4 separate regions of the Homo sapiens genome follow, and all the other regions are linked to region 2. The links are contacts of gene promoters, found by promoter capture Hi-C in human tissues and cell types (Jung and others, 2019). All regions are on one chromosome and are shown on one strand. Each heading gives the region's core, a stretch centred on a gene start or on the middle of the fragment in contact. The rest is flanking DNA. Distances are from core to core; before and after follow the strand shown.

What was found. The method cuts DNA at HindIII sites, captures the fragments that hold promoters and counts their contacts. A contact is called where the count stands out against the background at its distance.
Region 1: a contact is called between a fragment that was not itself captured here and the fragment with the promoter of RANBP10 in region 2, in 1 of the 25 tissues and cell types used here (dorsolateral prefrontal cortex).
Region 3: a fragment that was not itself captured here is called in contact with the fragment with the promoter of RANBP10 in region 2 in 1 of the 25 tissues and cell types used here (bladder).
Region 4: a contact is called between a fragment that was not itself captured here and the fragment with the promoter of RANBP10 in region 2, in 1 of the 25 tissues and cell types used here (aorta).

Annotation. Positions count from the first base shown.
Region 1 is chr16:67,606,987-67,610,277 of GRCh38, forward strand. All of the region lies in intron 2 of CTCF (CCCTC-binding factor), which reads left to right. Among named protein-coding and RNA genes, the nearest start is that of CARMIL2, 37 kb to the right of the region's middle. The HindIII fragment of the contact is 5,706 bases long and covers 1-3,291 here.
Region 2 is chr16:67,805,274-67,808,365 of GRCh38, forward strand. It overlaps RANBP10 (RAN binding protein 10), which reads right to left and starts at 1,287. Exons shown (of 14, transcript NM_020850.3): 1 at 1,029-1,287; 2 at 155-266. The coding sequence starts at 1,263. It overlaps TSNAXIP1 (translin associated factor X interacting protein 1), which reads left to right and starts at 1,616. Exons shown (of 16, transcript NM_001288990.3): 1 at 1,616-1,923. The coding sequence starts at 1,877. RefSeq lists enhancers at 410-1,030, 1,031-1,650, 1,356-1,585 and silencers at 1,006-1,225, 1,726-1,845. The HindIII fragment of the contact is 11,094 bases long and covers 1-3,092 here.
Region 3 is chr16:67,590,719-67,594,260 of GRCh38, forward strand. All of the region lies in intron 2 of CTCF (CCCTC-binding factor), which reads left to right. Among named protein-coding and RNA genes, the nearest start is that of CTCF, 30 kb to the left of the region's middle. The HindIII fragment of the contact is 6,285 bases long and covers 1-3,542 here.
Region 4 is chr16:68,003,532-68,007,066 of GRCh38, forward strand. It overlaps the pseudogene KARS1P3. Among named protein-coding and RNA genes, the nearest start is that of DPEP2, 5.8 kb to the left of the region's middle. RefSeq lists an enhancer at 3,055-3,535. The HindIII fragment of the contact is 4,078 bases long and covers 2-3,535 here.

The sequences.
Region 1 (3,291 bases), core at 24-2,523, 200 kb before region 2:
CTGTTGCCCTGGCTGGAGGGAGTACAGTGGCCCAATCTCAGCTCACTGCAACCTCCACCTCCCAGGTTCAAGCAATTCTTCTGCCTCGGCCTCCTGAGTAGCTGGGATTACAGGCATGTGCCACCACACCTGGCTAATTTTTGTATTTTTAATAGAAACGGGGTTTTGCCGTGTTGGCCAGGCTTGTCTCCATCTCCTGACTTCAAGTGATCTGCCCGCCTCGGCCTCCCAAAATGCTGGGATTACAGGCCTGAGCCACCACGCCTGGCCCCTATTTTACTCTTGTTTAGGTAATGTCATTCACAAGATTTTTGTTTGTTTTTTATTTTTTGTTTTTGAGACCGAGTCTCACTCTGTCGCCCAGGCTGGAATGCAGGGGCACTTTCTCAGCTCGCTGCAACCTCCACCTCCAGGGTTCAAGTTCTTTTCGTGCCTCAGCCTCCCAAGTAGCTGGGATTACAGGTGCACACCACTACGCCTGGCTAATTTTTGTATTTTTAGTAGAGATGGGGTTTTGCCATGTTAGCCAGGCTGGTCTTGAACTCCTGGCCTCAACTGATCCACCAGCCTTGGCCTCCCAAAGTGCTGGGATTACAGGCGTGAGCTACCGTGCCCGGCCCATTCACAAGATATAAGAGCCAAAAACTATGAATTGGCTGATTTGTTTTCTGCTTTCTATTATATATTCAATTTGGTTGGCATTTATTGAGTACTTACCATCCTGGGCACAGTGCTAAAGAGTAAAAACCGTGGCTGGGCGTGGTGGCTCACGCCTGTAGTCCCAGCACTTTGGGAGGCCGAGGCGGACAGATCACGAGGTCAGAAGTTCAAGACCAGCCTGGCCAACATAGTGAAACCCCGTATCTGCTAAAAATACAGAAAATTAGCCAGGTGTGGTGGTGGGCACCTGTAATCCCAACTACTCCGGAGGCTGAAGCAGGAGAATCACTTAAACCTGGGAGGCAGAGGTTGCAGTGAGCCAAGATCACGCCATTGCACTCCAGCCTGGGCGACAGTGCGAGACTCCGACTCAAAAAAAAAAAAAAAGTAAAAACCGGTTGGGCGCAGTGGCTCACACCTGTAATCCCAGCACTTTGGGAGGCCGAGGCAGGCGGATCACGAGGTCAGGAAATCGAGACCATCCTGGCTAACATGGTGAAACCCCGTCTCTACTAAAAATACAAAAAATTAGCCGGGCATGGTGGTGGGCGCCTGTAGTCCCAGCTACTCGGGAGGCTGAGGCAGGAGAATGGCGTGAACCTGGGAGGCGGAGCTTGCAGTGAGCGGAGATCGTGCCACTGCACCCTAGCCTGGGCAACAGAGCGAGACTCCGTCTCAAAAAAAAAATTAAAAAAAAAAAAACGACTTGTTAGATGTGGTTCTTATTCTCAGGGAATTCCTGATCTCATTGTCAGGAGAGAGGTGAATGTCAAGTTGATGGTATGACATGGGCAGTTTTGTGCAGTGTCTACAAACACGGCCATTGCAGTCTGGATCTAAGTTCTGAGTTTGGCTTCAAAAAACAAGGTCAAAAACCCTTGACAGGGTGGGGAAAATGGGGAATTGCTGTTGAGTGGGTATAAAGTTTCAGTTATGCAAGATGAGTAAGTTCTAGAGATCTGCTACACAACATAGTTCCTGTATTAATCGTATAGCATTATGCACTTTGAATTATGTTGAGGATGGATCTCATGATAAATATTATCACCAAAAACAAAATACAAGGAAATTTTGGAGGTGTATTTAGTGTTTTTTTTTTTCTTTTTTGAGACGGAGTTTCGTTCTTGTTGCCCAGGCTGCACAGTACAATGGCGCAATCTTGGCTCACCGCAACCTCCACCTCCCGGGTCAAACGATTCTCCTGCCTCAGCCTCCCAAGTAGCCAGGATTACATACAGGCATGCACCATCACACCTGGCTAATTTTGTATTTTTACTTAGGACGGGGTTTCTCCATGTTGTTCAGGGTGGTCTCGTACTCCCGACCTCAGGTGATCCACACACCTCAGCCTCCCAAAGTGCTGGGATTATAGGCGTGAGCCACCACGTGCTTAATAAAGCTACCTTAATAAAGCTTTTTACAAAACATTGGCAGACCCGGGCACAGTGGCTCAGTCACATGTATAATCCCAGCACTTTGGGAGGCTTAGGTGGGAGGATTGCTTCAGCCCAGGAGTTCAAGGCCAGTCTGGAAATGTGGCAAGACCCCATAATTGCAGAAAATTAAGCTAATTCATATATGCATCATCTCACATCCTTGTCATTTTTTGTGATGAGAACACTTAAAAATCTGCTCTCAGTTATTTTCAGGTATACGTTATTATTAACTGTAATATTCATGTTGTATAATAGATCTCTTGAACTTATTCCCACTGAAATTATATGTCCTTTACCAGTGTCTTCCCCACTACATGTGTAAGATTTAAATTAGTTTTGTTAGTAATTCTTTAATATCATCAGATATCCAGAGTTGAAATTTCTAATTGTCTTGTGTCACATCTTTTTCACCATTTATTGGTTTGAATCAGGATCCAAAGAAGATTCATGCATTGTGATTGATTACTGTCTCTTTAAGACTCTTTTATCTGTATCAGAGTTTCTCAGCCTCAGTGCTCTTGACATCTTGGGCCTGATAATTCTTTTTTTTTTTTTTTTTGAGATGGAATCTCGCTCTGTCGCCCAGGCTGGAGTGCAGTGGCGCGATCTTGGCTCACTGCAAGCTCCGCCTCCCAGGTTCACGCCATTCTCCTGCCTCAGCCTCCCAAGAGCTGGGACTACAGGCGCCCACCACCACGCCCGGCTAATTTTTTTGTATTTTTTAGTAGAGACGGGGTTTCACCGTGTTAGCCAGGATGGTCTCGATCTCCTGACCTCCGGTAATCTGCCCGCCTCAGCCTCCCAAAGTGCTGGGATTACAGGCGTGAGCCACCGTGCCCGGCCTGGCCTGATAATTCTTTGTGGTGGAGGACTGACCTGTGTCTTGGAGGATGTTTAATAGCATCTCTAGCTTTCACCCACGAGATAACAGTAGCACATCCCAGCCCAGTAGTGACAACCAAAAATGTGTTAGCCAAATGTTCCTAGAGGCAAAGTCACCCCAGGCTGAGAACTACTGATCTACTGGTTCTCCCTCCAATCAGTCTTCCCTTGTATTCTTCTTGTTATCTATTTGCAGAAGAACCTGAGTATAATCTTGCAGTGTTTCCCTCGGTATGGATTTCACTGATTTAATCCCTGTAGTATAATTTAACATCCTGAGTCACCAATTTCCTGTTAATTGGGTTGGATCTAG
Region 2 (3,092 bases), core at 37-2,536:
ACCAGACCATGCCCACAGTCAGGAAATAATGGCAGCCCAGACCCATGCGGCTCCCCAGCTCACATCAGCAACAAGTGCCAGCCAAAGGACCTGAACTCTGACCACAGGGATCAGCTCCATGATCAGGGAAAGAGGGTGGTCATGAAGGGCTTACCCATCTCTTCCTTTGCTGACAATCTTCACTTCAAAGTAATAAATGCCACAGGCAGCAGGTATGGGGTGGGTGGCACGCACTGAGGCCGCATCTTTGTGATTTTTGCCATGACCTAACAGGAGAGGGCAAGTAAGAAATTTCAGCAGAAGGAAATGCAAATGGAAGCCTCATTTTTCTCTGCAACTCCTCCATGACAACTCCACTCCTCTGTGGCCAGAGGACGCACTTACACAGGCCGAGGAATCATTAGACAACTGAATAAACACTTAAACCTTCCACCTTTGCCTCACCTCCTCCTGAGAACAGCAGTCCTGCCTGAGACACTGCCCATACAAACAAAACAAGGGTAGAGGCAATGTGAGAGATACTCAAGTGCTGCTGGCAGCCTCTCTAGAATCCAGGCAGCCCACCTGGGAGGCCAGGGGAAGAAGGATGAGGCCGACCTGGAAGACACCCCCCAAACTCTAGCACGGAACCCCAGGCTCAGTCTAGGATGCCTGGCAGGTGGGGAAGCCCATGAGTCTCACGCTAATGGTAGGTATGTGACCACCCCTTTCTTCTAAGCAGTGGCGAAAGGTCCCGCTGCCGTTGGCGCCAGCCTAGGATAAGCACGGAGGCCCTGGAGTGGAAGGTCCGGCCCAGCACTGGGTTTGGACACCTGTTGCGGTTCTCTTGACGGCAGGTGTCTCAGGACAGAGAACAGGCAGTCAGCCCTCGGCCTGTTCAGCCTCACCACCCTGGACATCCTGAAAGGGCCAAGCCCTAACTTGGAGCACCTAGGCAGGGAAAGGGAGGTGATAGGGCGGGGGCCTGGCAGCAGAGCCACCCCACGGACGCTCTAGCCTTAATTCCCCCCAGCCTGACGGGCCGATACCTTTGTAGTGGACGCGGAGGTTGCCCTGGGAGAGACCAATGTAGTTGTATTTGTCCTTGGGGCTCCAGGAGCGCGGCAGCGGAGTCTCTTGCTGGTTGACCGCGGGATACAGGCGCTGCAAGCGCCGGCTCAGCTCCTGCTCCCCAGGGGACGGCAGCCCGCCCCCAGCGCCCCCGCCGGAGGAGTCCCCAGGCTGCGGGTTCCCAGCTCCCGGGTCTGCCGTCGCTGCCGCCATCTTGGAGGGAGCTACTATTGTGTCACTGGGGGCGGGGAGGAGCGGGACCAGATCCGCCCCGCTCAGCCAATGGCCCGTGAGCCTCCCTGGGCCGCAGGGAAACCGAGTCCGAGTCCGGCACCCCTCTTTGGACACTGACACGCCTTACCACATTTCGAACTCCATACCCCACAATGCAGAGCTCTCGAGAGGCGGAGCAACTCGGGCTGGTAGAGAATTCTGGGAGATGTAGTATAACCGTCCTCAGCCATAAGCCTGTCCCATCGAGACGTCGGGACACCGAAAACTACCATTCCCGCCGGCAAAGCGGCTCCGGCCTCTCAGCACACTTCCCTCCCCATGGCCTCTGTTCATCCCCCTGCCTCAGTTCTGGTACCTGGGGTCAAATCGGCTGTAGTGGTTGACTCTCAGGGCACCCGCTGCCGGGTCCCAGTCCACCTTTGCTACTTTGTCCTACTCCCAGCCCGCGGGCGCTAGGCTCGGGGGCGTGGCGCATCCCTGACTCCGCCCCCGCCGCGGGGGGGCCTCTGGGGCCTGGTCGCCATGGCGACCGGCTGTACGCTACCACAGCTTCCCAGGCCGCGGGTGCTGATTGCCCGCCTGCCCGTGGGTCATGGCCTGCCAGCAGTCGCGGTACCACAGCTTCTCGTCCGCGTCGAGGTAGGCGCTGGCAGGGATGAGGGCAGAGATGAGGGTTTGAGTACTTCTAGAGAGGGAAATGGCACTTGATCCGGACCTCTGCACCTCCTGCTGGCCTCTGACCATTGATCTAGGGCTCCAGCACCACAGAGTCAATGGTTAGAATCGGGCTGATTTAGCCCAGTGAAGACGTTACGTGCTAGCAAAACGGTAGGCGCACTTTATCATTACTAGTAACAACCAGCTTGTATTGAATGTACTATATGCCAAATGCTTTATATACCACATTTTTAAATATTTTATTTTTGAGACAAGATCTCGTTCTGTCGCCCAGGCTGGAGTGCAGTGGCACTACTACGGCTCACTGCAGCCTCGACCTCCCGGGCTCAAGCGATCCTTCTACCTCAGCCTCCCGAGTAGCTGGGACTACAGGCATGCGCCACTACGCTTGGCTAATTTTTGGGTGTTTCTTTGTTCGTTTGTTTTTTGTAGAGACGAGGTTTCACCACGTTGCCCAGGCTGGTTTCGAACTCCTAGACTCAAGCGACCCTCCCACTTCGACCTCTCAAACTGGGATTACAAGCGTGAACCCCCACACCCGGCCTACGTACCATATTTAATCCTCACAACAACTGTATAAAGTAGTAATATTACCATTGAACAAGTAAAGAAATACTTTAGAAGCCTGGAGAGATCATCCTCTGGGTAGCTTCTGCCTGTACTCAGGTGTATAGCCTCTGGGTACTGCAAAATATGACCAGCTCCATCAGCCTGGAGAGCCATACATACGGATTAAAACAAAAATTTTGGCTAAATCGTTTTCTAGTTTTGGGACTTCAGACAGGGCCCTTCAAGTTCCAGGCCTCAGCTTATATATCTCAAACATGGGAATGATACAGCCCACCCCACAAACATTGTTGGGAACATTTAGGCAGAATATGTGAAGCTCTTGACACAGCTCTTGTATGTAATAGGCACCCAGTAAGTGTTGAATGAATGTAGTGTCCCCCCTTCTACTCATTCCCAGTGGGGGAAAAAAAAAAAAACACCACCCAATCCCACCTAAACTCTTCAGGGTCTGCTGCCTTGACAGAGAAAAGCCTACAAAAGCCCCTAAGAGGCCAGGCACGGTGGCTCACGCCTATAATCCCAGCACTTTGGGAGGCCGAGGCGGGGGGATCACTAGGTCA
Region 3 (3,542 bases), core at 250-2,749, 210 kb before region 2:
GGCTGAGGAGGGTGGATCAGCTGAGGTCAGAAGCTCAAGCCCAGCGTGGCCAACATGGCGAAACCCTGTCTCTACTAAAAATACAAATATTAGCCGGACATGATGTTTGGTGCCTGTAATCAATCCCAGCTACTTGGGAGGCTGAGGCGGGAGAATCGCTTGAACCCGGGAGGTGGAGGTTGCAGTAAGCTGAGATGGCACCATTGCACTCCAGCCTGGATGACAGAGTGAGACTCTGTCTCAAAAAAAAAAAAAAAAAAAAAAATGCTGGACTGGGTGGCTCACACAAATGCTGTGATTACAGGCGTGAGCCACCGTAATCCCAGCACTTTGGGAGGCCGAGGCGGGCAGATCACTTGAGGTCAGGAGTTTGAGACTAGCCTAGCCAACATGATGAAACCCCATCTCTACGAAAAATACAAAAATTAGCTAGTCGTGGTGATGCGTGCCTGTAATCCCAGCTACTCAGGAGGCTGAGGCTGAGAATTGCTTGAACACAGGAGGCAGAGATTGCAGTGAGCCAAGATCTCACCACTGCACTCCAGCCTGGGTGACAGAGCGAGACTCTGTCTCAAAAAATAAATGAAAATTAATGTCAGAGAAGTGAGAGGTACAGTTGTGATTAAATAGATGAGTGCTTTTTCAGATAAAGGCTGCTTCCGTTCCCAGTCACTGTGAAAGAAATGGTCACTATTATTTTTCTGCTTCTCAGCCCAAGTTATTCTCCCAATTCAACTCCTCCTCATTCTTTATTGTAGTCTACAACTTTCCTGGTACTAGTTCACTGATACTTTGCTTTGATGTATTTTAAGCTCTCAGATAAGATGATGGCGTATATGTTTTCAGGAATAGCAGAGTAAAATGGTTATTTTGTTTAACTTTTAAACCTAGCTTTTACTCTAAAAGAGTTAATAACTTTTATTCGTTTTGGCTAGTGTCCTGCATCTAGTAAAAGTTACTTAGCTTTTCCTTTCATCCTCAGGAAAAACTGATTACTTTTTTTGGGGGGGGGCAGTAAGGGCACAGAGTCTTGCGCTGTCACTCAGACTGGAATGCAGTGGTGTGATGATAGCTTACTGCAGCCTGGGCTCAGGCGATCCTCCCGCCTCAGTCCCGAGTAGCTGGGACTACAGATGGATGCCATCATACCTAGCTAATTTTTTTTTTAATTTTTAATGGAGACAAGGTCTCACTATGTTGCTCAGGCTGGTCTTGAACTCCTGGGCTCAAACGATTCTCTTGGCTCTGCCTCCCCAAGTACTGGGATTATATGTGTGAGCCACTGTGCCCGACCTGATGACTTATAATTGCTTTTTTTCCCCTCCTTGTCCTAATGTCATTTAACATTCTGTATAGTGAGAATACCAGACTAAGCTTTTCAGTCAACATTTTTCTAATGTAAAGATCTATCGACTGGACGCAGTGGCTCACACCTGTAAACCCAGCACTTTGGGAGGATGAGGCGGGCACATCACCTGAGGTCAGGAGTTTGAGACCAGCCTGGCCAACATAGTGAAACCCTGTCTCTACTAAAAATACAAAAATTTGCTGGGCATAGTGGTGTACGCCTGTGATCCCAGCTGCTCAGGAGGCTGAGGCAGGAGAATTGCTTGAACCCTGGAGGCAGAGGTTGCAGTGGCCGGGATTGTGCCACTGCGCTCCAGCCTGGGTGGCAGAGCAAGAATCTGTCTAAAAAAATAAATAAGGCCAGGCACAGTGGCTCATGCCTGTAATCCCAGTAATTTAGGAGGCTGAGGTGGGAGGATCACCAGAGCTCAGAAGTTTGAGACCATCCTGACCAGTATGGTGAAACCCTGTCTCTACTAAAAATATAAAAATTAGCCGGCATGGTGGCATGCGCCTGTAGTCCCAGCCACTCGGGAGGCTGAGACATTAGAATTATTTGAGCCCAGGAGGCGGAAGTCGCAGTGAGCCAAGATCGTGCCACTGCACTGCAGCCTGGGTGACAGAGTGAGACTCCGTCTCAAAAACAACAACATCAAAAAAAGATACTTACAGAGGCCAGGCGTTGGTGACTGGCTCAACGTCAGTAATCTCAGCACTTTGGGAGGCCGAGGTGGGTGGATCACTTGAGCTCAGGAGTTTGAGACCAGCCTGGCCAACATGGTGAAACCCCGTCTCTACTAAAAATACAAAAATTAGCGGGGCACAGTGGCATGTGCCTGTAGTCCCAGCTACTTAGGAGGCTGAGGCAGGAGAATCGGTTGAACCTGGAGGCAGGGGTTGCAGTGAGCCGAGATCGCGCCACTGCATTCCAGCCTGGGTGACAGAGTGAAACTCCATCTGGAAAAAAAAAATTTATATATATATGTATAAATGTTTAATATATATTTTATATTTATATATTTGTATATCTTTTTTATATTTTAATATATGGTTTTTAATATATATTTTATACATATAAAGAGAAAGGTGCAAGGTATCTTCTGTTCTCTTAAAATTTTTTACAATTTCAACTTTTATTTTAGATTCGGGGGTACATGTCCAAGTTTTTTTGTGTACATGGGTATATTGTGTGATTATGAGGTTTGGGGGTACAATTGTTGCTCATCACCCAGGTAATGAGCATAGTACCCAATGATTAGTTTTGCAGCCCTTACCCCGTTTTCTCCCTCCCCCTCCTAATCCCTAAGGCCTATTGTTATGTTTATGTCCATGTGTACCCAGTGTGTAGCTTCCACTTGTAAGTGAGAACATGAGATACTTGGTTTTCTGTTCCTGCCTTAATTCGCTTAGGATAATGACCTCCAGCTGCATCTGTGTTGCTGTAAAGGACATTATTTCATTCTTTTTTATGGCTGTGCGTTCTCTGCCTTCTTATGATGTCTGAGGGTTCGTATCAACCTCTGTTAGGCCATTTGTTAGGTACCCTTCATGTTGACTTTCAGAATTTCTGTGGCTTGTGAAAGTTCATGGGGTCTTAGAGCTGCTAATGTATTTCTTACCAAGAGAATGCAGATAGACTTCTGATCTCCCCAGGAAATAAGTTGGGGTTTTTAGCAATCAGTTGCCCCTTATAATGGATAGTAAGCAGTATATTAAAAAGTTGTGGGTTTAGTTATAAAATAGACTGCTGGAAATCATTCTCTTCTACTGTCTTATTCTCAGTACACATGGATTATTCCTAGTATAATAACCAGTCTACTTAACTGACTAAACTCTGCAGTGGTGAGTATAAAAGGTTGTTTTGGTTGTTTTCCTTTGGAAATTGTCTGACATATTTGCTATGTAGTCATAATCATAGGTGATAAATTACTAAACCTTAATATCTTCAAAAATTAGTGTATTCACAATTAGCTTCCATTTTTACATGGCAGGATTTTAAAAAATCTAACCTGTAATTGTGTTTTTGGGAATTTTTATTTTTCTCTATTAAGAAGTGACACAGGCTGAGCATGGTGGTTTATGCCTGTAATCCCAGCACTTTGGGAGGCCACTTGAGCTTAGGAGACCAGCCTAGGCAATACAGTGAGATCCCATCTCTGTAAAATAAAATGAACCAAGTATGGTGGCACATGCTT
Region 4 (3,535 bases), core at 791-3,290, 200 kb after region 2:
TCGAACTCCTGACCTCAGGCAATCTGCCTGCCTTGGCCTCCCAAAGTGCTGGGATTACAGGCGTGAGCCACTGCACCTGGCCTAAGAAACTTATTATACATGTGATGATCTTACAGCAGATGATAAATTTCTGCCTCATTCATTCAGGATCAAGTCCAAGTATCTCTGACCATACCTTATTTCCTTGTCTTTGAGGCCAAAGTGAAGATGAGGTAACATATACAAGCAAGGCCACAGCAGTGTGATCTCATAGGGAATGAAGCTCAGCTCATCCTTCTTGGTTTTTCCCAGGATTCCTCTGAATTCCAATTATGTTTCCCCAACGCAGTTTGTTATTAATATGAATAAATTATTCTTCCTGAAATTATAATTCCTGAAATTGGCCATGACTTGCAACTTGACCCCCTCTGCTCAAAGATCATAGAAGTTCATGGCTGGGCACTGTGTCTCACGCCTATAATCCCAGCACTTTGGGAGGCCAAGGCAGGCAGGCAGATCACCTGAGGTTGGGAGTTCGAGATCAGCCTGACCAACATGGAGAAACCTCACCTCTACTAAAAATACAAAATTAGCCGGGCGTGGTGGCGCACGCCTGTAATCCCAGCTACTAGGGAGGCTGAGGCAGGAGAATTGCTTAAACCTAGGGAGGAGGAGGTTGCAGTGAGCTGAGATTGTGCCATTGCATTCCAGCCTGGGCAACAATAGTGAAATTCCATCTCAAAAAAAAAAAAAAAAAGATCATAGAAGTTCAGCTTTCCTCCAAAAGCTTTTTTGGCATGGATCCTATCTGTCACGTTTAAGGTGATATCAGTCAGGAGATCCCCAGTTTGCAGGTGACAATATTCTGGGATGAAGTCAGTGAGGGAGATGTCTACATGGATCTCGTTGGGGTATGGGTCTTTCCCATTGACCTACCTGACTGCAAATCTTTTTTTTTTTTTTTTTTTTTGAGACAGAGTCTCGCTCTGTTGCCCAGGCTGGAGTGCAGTGGCTCAATCTCAGCTCACTGCAACCTCCACCTCCCAGATTCAAGCGATTCTCCTACCTCAGCCTCCCAAGTAGCTGGAATTACAGGCATGTGCCACCATGCCCAGCTAATTTTTGTATTTTTAGTAGAGATGGGGTTTCATCATGTTGGCCAGGCTGGCCTCGAACCCCTGACTTCAAGTGATCTGCCTGCCTCAGCCTCCCAAAGTGCTAGGATTACAGGAGTGAACCACCGGGCCTGGCCTTGGCTGTGGATCTTGTAGTACTGATTTGGGTCCAGGCTCTCCTCCTCAGGACCCACACCATTGTCAGTGGTATGGTTGGTGGCAGCAGCAGTGACCTGGGCTTAGCTGTTTCTCACTGAGCTCTTACTGCTTGGCTGCCTTCTCTGCCACTTTCTTCTCGGCTTTCAGGTATCTCTTCGGCTTGTTCTTGCTCAGTTTTGACTCACCACCATCCACTTTAACCTTGGCCCCTTGTACTGCAGTCATCTTCCCAGAGGGCCTGGACCCAAAATTGTGTTTTTTTTCTTTTTCTTTTTTTTTTGAGATGAAGTCTTGCTCTGTTGCTCAGGCTGGAGTGCAGTGGCGCAATCTCGGCTCGCTGCAACTTCTGCCTCCAGGGTTCAAGGGATTCTCATACCTCATCCTCCAGAGTAACCAGGAATACAGGCACCCACCACCACTCCCAGCTAAATATTCACATTTTTAGTAGCGATGGGGTTTTGTCATGTTGTCCAGGCTGGTCTCGAACTCCGGGCCTCAAGTGATCCTCCCACATCAGCCTCCCAAAGTACTGGAATATAGGCATGAGCCGCTGTGCCTGGCCCTGTTTTTTGTTTTTTTCACGTGGCCGTGTAGTTAAGGAACCAGCCTTATCGTGTGGGTAAGAAAATTGAGCAGCTGGTCAGATGAGGGGTTCCTTCAATCCCTCCACTTCCAGCTGCTGCCTCTAGGAAAGGCCTCAAATTCCTTACCTCAGCTTCCTGGGATTACAGGCGCACGCCACCATGCCTGGCTAATTTTTTTATTTTTAGTAGAGACAGGGGTTTCTCCATGTTGGCCAGGCTGGTCTCAAACTCATGACCTCAAGGGATCTGCCCACCTCAGTCTCCCAGAGTGCTAGGATTACAGGCGTGAGCCACTGTGCCCAGCCTCAAATTCCTTACATCTATCAGTTTGTCCGGGCATCATTTCCTGATCACCCACTGGTGCTGGCCATTTGCTGGGGTGTGCAGTGAGGTGGCTGGATAAGTCTCCAGCTATCACATGTGCTGGCATAAGCACATGGGGGTGGAGGGTGGGCTCTGTAGAGGCCCCCAAGATCCAGGAGCCAGTGCTGACCAAACATCTAGACAACATGTGTGATTTCACATTTAACCTCAAATTCAGACTTGCTGTCTCTTGCTTAACCTTGTCTGCTGATCTCCGAGGGCTATCAGACCTGTTTCTGCAAAAACACAGTGAAGTCACAGCACACCCTGCCCCGGAGCTCTCTAAGCTTCCTGTTTTTATGCAGAAAGCCTGCCCTCCTGTGAAGCTGACCATGTGAGATCTCACTGACTCCGCATCTGGGTGAATCTGAGAAGCTTAGTTAAAAACAACAACACAAAACTTTTTTTTTGAAACTGTATCTCCCTCTGTGGCCTAGGCTGGAGTGCAGTGGTGCCGTCATGGCTCACTGTAGCCTCAAATTCGGGGCTCAGGTGATCCTCTCACCTCAGCTTCCCGAGTAGCAGGGACTACAGGGTGGTGCCACCACACCCAGCTAATTTTTTTTTTTTTTTTGGTAGAGATGGGATTTCACCATGTTGCCAGGCTGGTCTCAAACCCCTGGTCTCAAGTGATCCTCCCACCTTAGCCTCCCACAGTGTTGGGATTACAGGCATGAGCCACTGTGCCCAGACCAAAAAACTTTTTATAGGAAAAATTGCAAATACATGAGAAAGGAGAGAGAAAAGTGTATTAACTCCCATGTAGCCATCACCCAGTTTCAAAGATTACCAACTGATGGCTCATCTTATTTCATTTATGCTCTCACTCACCTCTTTCTACAGATTATTTTAAAGCAAATCATAGACATCTATTTCATCCATTTTTAAGTATGCCTCTCTAAAAGGTAAGGGCTCTTTTTAGGCTGGGCACGTGGCTCTTGCCTGAAATCACAGCACTTTGGAAGCTTGAGGTGGGTGGATCACCTGAGGTCAGGAGTTGGAGACCAGCCTGGCTAACATAGCGAACCCCATCTCTGCTAAAAATACAAAAATTAGCTGGTTGTCGTGGAGGACACCTATAATCCCAGCTACTCAGGAGTCTGAGACAGGAGAACTGCTTGAACCCAGGAGGCAGAGATTGCAGTGAGCTGAGATCATGCCACTGTACTCCAGCCTGGGCAGCAGAGAAAGACTCAGTCTCTAAATAAATAAATAAATAAATGGTAATGGCTGTTTTTAAAAGACAACTATAAGCCAGGTGCACTGGGCCATTCCTGTAGTCCTACTAGCTATTTGGGAGGCTGAAACAGGAGGATTGCTTGAGCCCAGGAGTTT